2 separate regions of the Homo sapiens genome follow, and region 2 is linked to region 1. The links are contacts of gene promoters, found by promoter capture Hi-C in human tissues and cell types (Jung and others, 2019). All regions are on one chromosome and are shown on one strand. Each heading gives the region's core, a stretch centred on a gene start or on the middle of the fragment in contact. The rest is flanking DNA. Distances are from core to core; before and after follow the strand shown. Region 1 holds the start of IL12B (interleukin 12B). Region 2 overlaps LOC124901123 (a long non-coding RNA gene).

What was found. Contacts are between HindIII fragments. The study calls those that stand out against the background at their distance.
Region 2: a contact is called between a fragment that was not itself captured here and the fragment with the promoter of IL12B in region 1, in 1 of the 25 tissues and cell types used here (hippocampus).

The regions. Positions count from the first base shown.
Region 1 is chr5:159,328,626-159,332,130 of GRCh38, forward strand. It overlaps IL12B (interleukin 12B), which reads right to left and starts at 1,862. Exons shown (of 8, transcript NM_002187.3): 1 at 1,807-1,862. IL12B-AS1 (IL12B antisense RNA 1) reads left to right here and starts at 2,893. Exons shown (of 5, transcript NR_037889.1): 1 at 2,893-3,415. The HindIII fragment of the contact is 3,117 bases long and covers 1,151-3,505 here.
Region 2 is chr5:159,504,869-159,508,373 of GRCh38, forward strand. It overlaps LOC124901123 (a long non-coding RNA gene), which reads right to left. Exons shown (of 2, transcript XR_007059022.1): 2 at 1-68. Among named protein-coding and RNA genes, the nearest start is that of LINC01845, 40 kb to the left of the region's middle. The HindIII fragment of the contact is 8,633 bases long and covers 1-3,505 here.

The DNA.
Region 1 (3,505 bases), core at 612-3,111:
GAGGTACTGCAATTACATGCGCCTGTAAAACCCAGAGGCTGGCACACTGGAAGGGAAATAGTGGAGATTCCTGGCATCTCCTGGCCACTTACGCTGAGGTATTCCCACTAGCTGTGTGCCCAGCACTTCCTCTGCATGCCTCAGATGCATTTGACAATCTCAGGTGAACTGCACTTCAGGGTCAAGGGAACCCCGGCCATGGTTCTAAGAAGCAACTCCCATTTTAGTATCACCTACATTTGAAACCACAGAGCACTGTCCAGGAGAGGTGATGGTGGTGGGTCTCCTCCTTTGGCTCTCTGGCCCATCAGCTGATACTAGGGAGCGCTATCCCTCAGCCCACATTTCTCAGCATGGTAAGTCTGAGAGTCTTGATGATTAAAACACATTTTTGTGTGTGCAATTTCATAGGTTTTCTAAACTCTTGAAACCCTTGCATGAAGGACAAAGGGACCCCACGTTACACACTCCTACTTCCTGGAGTATGCTAAGGGCTTCCCAACACTGGTGCCAACATCAGCATGCCAATGACGCTTGGGTGGGCATCTCTTTTTTAAGTTTTGTTTGTTACCTTTAATTAGAAAAGGGAGTTATTATTAAAGAATAAAAAGATATAGTCACAGATGGCATGGGTGGCACATGCAAAGATCCCTAGTTTGAGGGCCAGGCAGACTTCTAGAACTGTGTGACTCTGGGTGAGTCACTTGGCCCCTTTAAGCCCCACACTCCTGATCTATAAAATGGGCATGCTACTGTGGTAAGGAGTTAGTGACATAATTCACGTGAAGTGTCATGGTGCCTAGATGAAGTCAGGACCCACTATTTGCTCCCCTCCTTCCACAGCATTTACTACAATGGCAACAATACAGTCTCTTCTTTACTGTTTGTCTTCTCTGCCACACTGAGTGAACTCTCTTATGCCATGGATCATGTCTATCTTGTTTTGCACTTTACCCCCAGAGTCCAGCACAGAGGGATTCCATGACTTATTAGTAGCATGAAGGAATGTACGGAAATCATACAATTTCAGATTCCAGTAAACTAAACTCTAAGAGGTTACCCACATTCCATCTAGTATCTTGCAATTCCTTGTTTGAAAAAGTGGGTCATCACCTGGGGTTTAGTAATCCCTTTGTTAAAATGACATTGTTGTTGCACACAATTTTACCTGGGCAAGTAAAAAAACCTTTTTTTCCCCCTTCTCACAGATTTAAAAACTCTTTAGGAAGCAATAATAGCTTTTCATTTTTTAACTGGGGCCAAAGTTAGTTAATCCACAAGAATGGGGATCCCAGCTGTCATTTTGGTTGATATCACAACTGACGACCAAGACCATCACAAATATGGGAGCAAGTCTGATTTGTAACATTATTATAATTATGAATCCAATTACTTTAAGGAATGCACGAAAGGCTTTTTAAAAATTTCAATAGTAAGGCAGGCACCACTCACTTTAGCTCTATACAATCCTTTAACTGATGGGCATTAACATTTAGGAATATACTTTTATACATCAATACACACCACTTCAAAATAAGATAAAACAAACATTTCCACAAACTATGCATACACACAGATCTTGCTATACAGTTATTATTAGGTGGCTTTTAAAATGGACACTGTACATCGGTCCCTAGAGTACTAAGTTTTCACTAATGTTCCAGCAGATGACTCACCAGGGATGCTTCCAGGAATCCACCAACTCCCTCCTGCCAGCTGCTGGGGTAGCACACTAACGGTTTCTACACCTGGACAGCTGCAGGCCCACAGGGAGGGGAGGGAGGTAGGGGCTTGGGAAGTGCTTACCTTGCTCTGGGCAGGACGGAGAGTCCAATGGCCCTGAAACAGATGTTGTTTCTTCTGCTGCTGTTGCTGGTACTGGAACTTATATACTCTACTCCTTTCTGATGGAAACTTAAACTAGAAACTGACTTGTTGCAACATTGAAAACAACTCTCAAAACCTTCTGGGGGAATTTCAAGAAGTTCCTTTTTTGTTTGTCTCTCTCTGTGTGTGTATCAATAACGAGGAGGGAACATAGACATCAAAATCCCAGGTAATGAACTAAGAGGAAATGACTTTTGGGTGGGGAATAAGGAAGGAGATGGAGATGCTAATTTCTCTGGGTTTACATCATGGCCAAGGTGCTTGGAGACAGCACTAGGCAGATTCCCTGGGTTCCACAGATCGAGGAAGAAGGAAGGCCAAGGGGCGGTCAGACGGGAGGCTGAGTTCATGTCGGGATGGAACAACTGTATGCCCAAGGGCTTAAAAACAAAATCCTGGTTCTTCCCAAGTCAGAGAGGATGAGATGAAGGGCAAAGGGTTTAGTACATCTGGGGCGCCTTCCTCCACATTAGTCCTTTAATTTCAGAAACATACTATTTACCACCCATCTTGGCTCCATGCACCTCTCCCCACATTCCCCGAGTGGGAACACACGCGTGCACACACACACCCATGCACATTTCATACAGACACAGACCTGGGGAGATGATAAAACTGCGTGTACCACTAATAAGACTCAAATATGTGCACATCCTGTGCTCATAGGTACTCGCTCATAGGGGCGGATGGGAGCAGAAAGTGAAATACCCTCAGGGAGGCATACAGACAACCACACTCAAGGCACCCCCCCTTGGGCACCCAGACTACATCCTCATTTCATTTGCACACAAATCTATGGCCCTAGGGGCTCCGTGCAGATGCACAGGAATAGCGGAATAAAGATATCTCTCGTGGTGGAATTTCAAGTTGCTAAGAGGTATGCAAAGGTGTACACCGGTGTGGACCCCCCCATCCCCCGCCCAGTCTGCACGTGAACAGGAACATGTACCTGCACGTATACCAGGTACACGCAGACAGATGCGGGCCATCCCCAGAGCCGCCGACAGAGGTCGCTGCGAGACGGTACCCGCGCCCCACAGTCCACCCGCTCCTCGGAGTCCCCCCGCGCCCCGGAGTCCACCCGCGCCCCGGAGTCCACCCGCGCAGGTCCACTTCTCCATCCCTGCTCTCGACCTCCGCCCCTGCGGTGGGGGAAGTTCCTGGGGCGGTGGCTGGGACCAGGCCGGGTTTTAGGCGGGCGCAGATTTCCGGGCTAACTTTCCTCGCCGTCTCAGCGCGGGAAGGGGGAAATGGGAAACCCGGGCCAGAGCAGCGGAGCTTCCCAGCCGCACACTTCCTCCCTCCAGCCGTTTGTCTCGGCAGGGGAGGGCCCAGGCAGCCAAGCCGGCAGGCCCACTGGTTATCCGACCTTGTGCTCTGGCCGTGGGTGGAGACCTTACATCCAGCTCAGAGCGCCTCCTCCCATCCCCTGTGTCCTCTAGGCCTCCCCAGACTTTGCCTTTTAGCCTTCCAGTGAAACAAGTTCTGTATCCAAGATATACAATTAAGTGGACAAAGCAGATTGCAGGTATGTTTTTTCGTATGATACCATTTGTGGGGTGTGTGTGCGTATGTGTGTAAGTGCACCTGCACTTTTCACAACTGGTATCTCTGAGGC
Region 2 (3,505 bases), core at 680-3,179, 180 kb after region 1:
GAAGACCTTCCGTTGCTTCCTTTCTCCTTGTTGCGTCCGTTCCTCCCGCCCCTTATCAAGACTGTCTGCTGGAAAAGAGAAAGCATAATGCTGACACACACAAATGAAACCCCAGTATCACAAGGGGCTCCTAGCAAGGCCTCAGACAGGAAGGGCCATAAATAACCGAGTGGCCTGTGCAACAGGCTCAGCCTGTAAAGCTGGTCAGTAGGACCTCTTCAGTCCCTGCCCTGGCCCCTCAAGTGGCCAGTGTCCTCACCTTGAGCCCCACACCTCCTTCCCCATCTAGTGCCCCTCCTAGGTCTGTTCCCCAGGGCAGTGACTCATACTCTGAATTGCTTCTCCCTCCTCTGCCAAACTCCAGCTTTCCCTGGGAGAAAACTATCTGGTAAGCCAGTCACTAAAATCATTGCTTAGTCAGCCACTCTCGTGGGGGTAATTGAAATGTCTTTTAAACAGCATTTATGGTTTTAATTTCTAATTATAAAAGTGATACATATTTATTTTAGAAAACTTTGGGGAAAAAATCTAGGGAAAGTATCCAAGCATGTGGAAGAAAATACGAATCCTGAGGCCCAGGTCACAGCCCAGGCCAATTTGATCAGAATTTCTAGGGATGGTATCCTAGAGCAGGATTGTTTTATTAAGTTCCCCAGGTGATTCCATTGCAGAAAAGGTTCTTTACTTAGAGATACCTGCCAATAATACTTTGAAGTATTCTCTTTACCTTTTATATTGATATTCAGATTATACTGTGTATGTTATTCAAAACGCGAATTTTTTTGCCCAGTGATATATTATGAACATCTTCCCATATCATCAAATATTCTTTGAAAACATGATTTTTAAAACGGGCATGTAATGTTCCATCTTATGGATCCACATAATTAGTTTAGCTAACAATCCATTATTAGACATGTTTCTAAATGTTGTCAATTAAAATAATACTGAGATGTATTTCTACTTCTCTCTCTGATCACTTACTTAGCTCACACATAGCATGTAATCGTATGCTGGACATCATTCTAAGGCATTCCATATATTTCATTTAATCCTCACAACCAGCCTATGATATTATCCCCATTTTAGAGATGAGGAAACTGAGGTTCAGAGAGCCTAAATCACATGGCTGGTAAATGGTGGAGCCCATTCATGCTCTGGAATTAAAATTGTGGGGTTCAAAAAAAAATGAACATTTTTAAGGCTTTTGAGGCACACTGCCAAATAACCTACCAGGAAGGTTGTAATGATTCACTTCTTCACCAGCAGCATGGGGAAGACAGTGCAAGGGTCTCTGAATTTGAAAATAATTCTATAAACCAATGGAATCCCTCCATTTAAAAACCCTCCTTATTGCAGGTCTACTATGTATGGAAAGAGTTTTTTGGAGTAGGGTTTTAAAAAATGATATCTAATAGCTGCATAGCATGGCTTTACAGTTTGTAAGTGATGTTCCAAGCATAAGACAGCATATTGCTTTTGTGGAGGGAGGGAAGGGGGACTGCCCAGAATCCTTCAGCTTGTGCCACCCAGTGGCCTGCCCTGTGGGAGAGTTCTAAGACTGTTCCTGAGCACTGGTCCCTCTCTAATTGTCTTTTCTTCCCACCCTTCTTTTGGGGAAAATGCTTCTGGTAAGACAGAGAAAAGAGACAAACATTTCCAAATGCAGTAGTTAATGGAAGAGGTGCTGTGAGAGGAGAGATGGCATTGTTAGAGCAAAATTTGCTGAGCTTTTGATGTTTTACCAAAGAGCCCAAAGCCCCCTTCCATGAAGGAATCTGACTCAACTCTCTTCAGCTCCCAATGGGAGTGAATGGAGCTGCTTTTCTGGGAGCCCTGGAGGGAGGGCAGGGGAGCCCAAAGGGCCAACTGGACAAGGGAATCCCAAGAAAGGAAGGAAAAGCTAGGCAAGAGAGAAAAGATGTCTGGAAGCCCAATGAGAGGCTCGAGGTGGGCTGATGTGTCTCAATGAGAAACATACAAAGCTCTGCGCACCACCCTTTGGCTCCTGTGTGTATCTGTCAAGTGTGATAATTAGCTTGGTCATTATTATTTATCTTTTGGAAGAGGATTGTGCCTCCCCTGCCATTCCCTCTCCCACCACACATACCTACACTGACATCATCAACCTTTCTGAAGGATTTCCTATTTGTAGCAGGAAAGCAAAAAACTTCCCATGACTATGAGTTTCTTGAGGACAGAGCTCCATGCCTTTTTAAAAAAATTATATTCATTCTCAGCGGCTCCAGCAGGTCAAAATTTTAATTTCCATTCACAGGGCAACCTATTGAGGTTTGATTGAGGCTTCAATGGGAGTTATGTTAGTGAACTCTATTTTGGCTGCCAGCTAGAGAAACTCACTTCAAACTTCCTTAAATATAAAAAAGAGTACTATACACCCATAAAAAAGAATGAGATCCCATCATTTCCAACGACAGGGATGGAACTGTAGGTCATTATGTTAAGTGAAACAAGCCAGATACAGAAAGACAAAAAGCACATGTTCTCACTTATCTGTGGCAGCTAGAAATGAAAACAACTGGACTCTTTGATTATGGCCCAATAAAGGAGAAAGTCCAGGATGGGGAGCAGATTTGGCTAGATTCAGAGTTTTGAAGGTTGTTGTTTGTTTTTCTCTCTCTCTCCATCTTTCTTTGGACTGGCCTCATTTTTTCCTACTTATGAATGGGCTTCCTTCACATGTCCAGAGATCCTTTCTTCGGATTTTACGTATGGGTGCTGAGAGAGAGAAATCCCCTTTGCCCAGGTCATTGCTAATCTGTGTTGCTCATGCGTGGGGGGCTGCTTAAGCCTTTCTCTTGCGTGACCCCAGCTTCACAATCTAATGGAGAGAGAAGACTGCTCTTCCAATGCCCATACACCAATCTCAGAGAGACAGACTGGCTGGCTTAGTTTGAGTCACATTAGGTCAACTGACTACTGTTTCCAGTGGCATGAAGTATCACAAGTGGCCAGACCATTTACAGGACAACCCATGTGGTCAGGAATGGCATCTGTTGCCCAAAGAAAAGGGTGAACAAACAGTGTGTCAGGAAAGATACAACTCCCCGAGAACCCTGTAGTGGTTCAGACTCATGTTTTCCCAGTCCAGAGTCTCAGCTGGTCCAGTTAATTTGGATTTTTATTTCTGTCTCTAATAGCATGTCTTTCTTGCACTTTTCTATCTGCAAAATAAGATAAGCACTCATTTTTATTAAAGTCTGATTTTTTAACCTTTCCTCTTGATTCATTGCTTCCCTGTAATTTTAAAACATGCAGATATCATTATATTTACTGCTATTCTTGAATGAGTAGGTCTACTTTAGAAGCCTCGATTTCTCAACCAGTTGCTTGCTGTAAACTGCTTTAAATATCAGGTCTGGACACACTCCTCTGTTGAAGCAGCCTCTTGAGGGCCACTAATGACCCCTGGGTGCTGAACCCATTGTCCTTTCTTGGCTGCATTGTCCTGGCTGCTGCAGCAGTTCGTGATGGGCAATCTTAC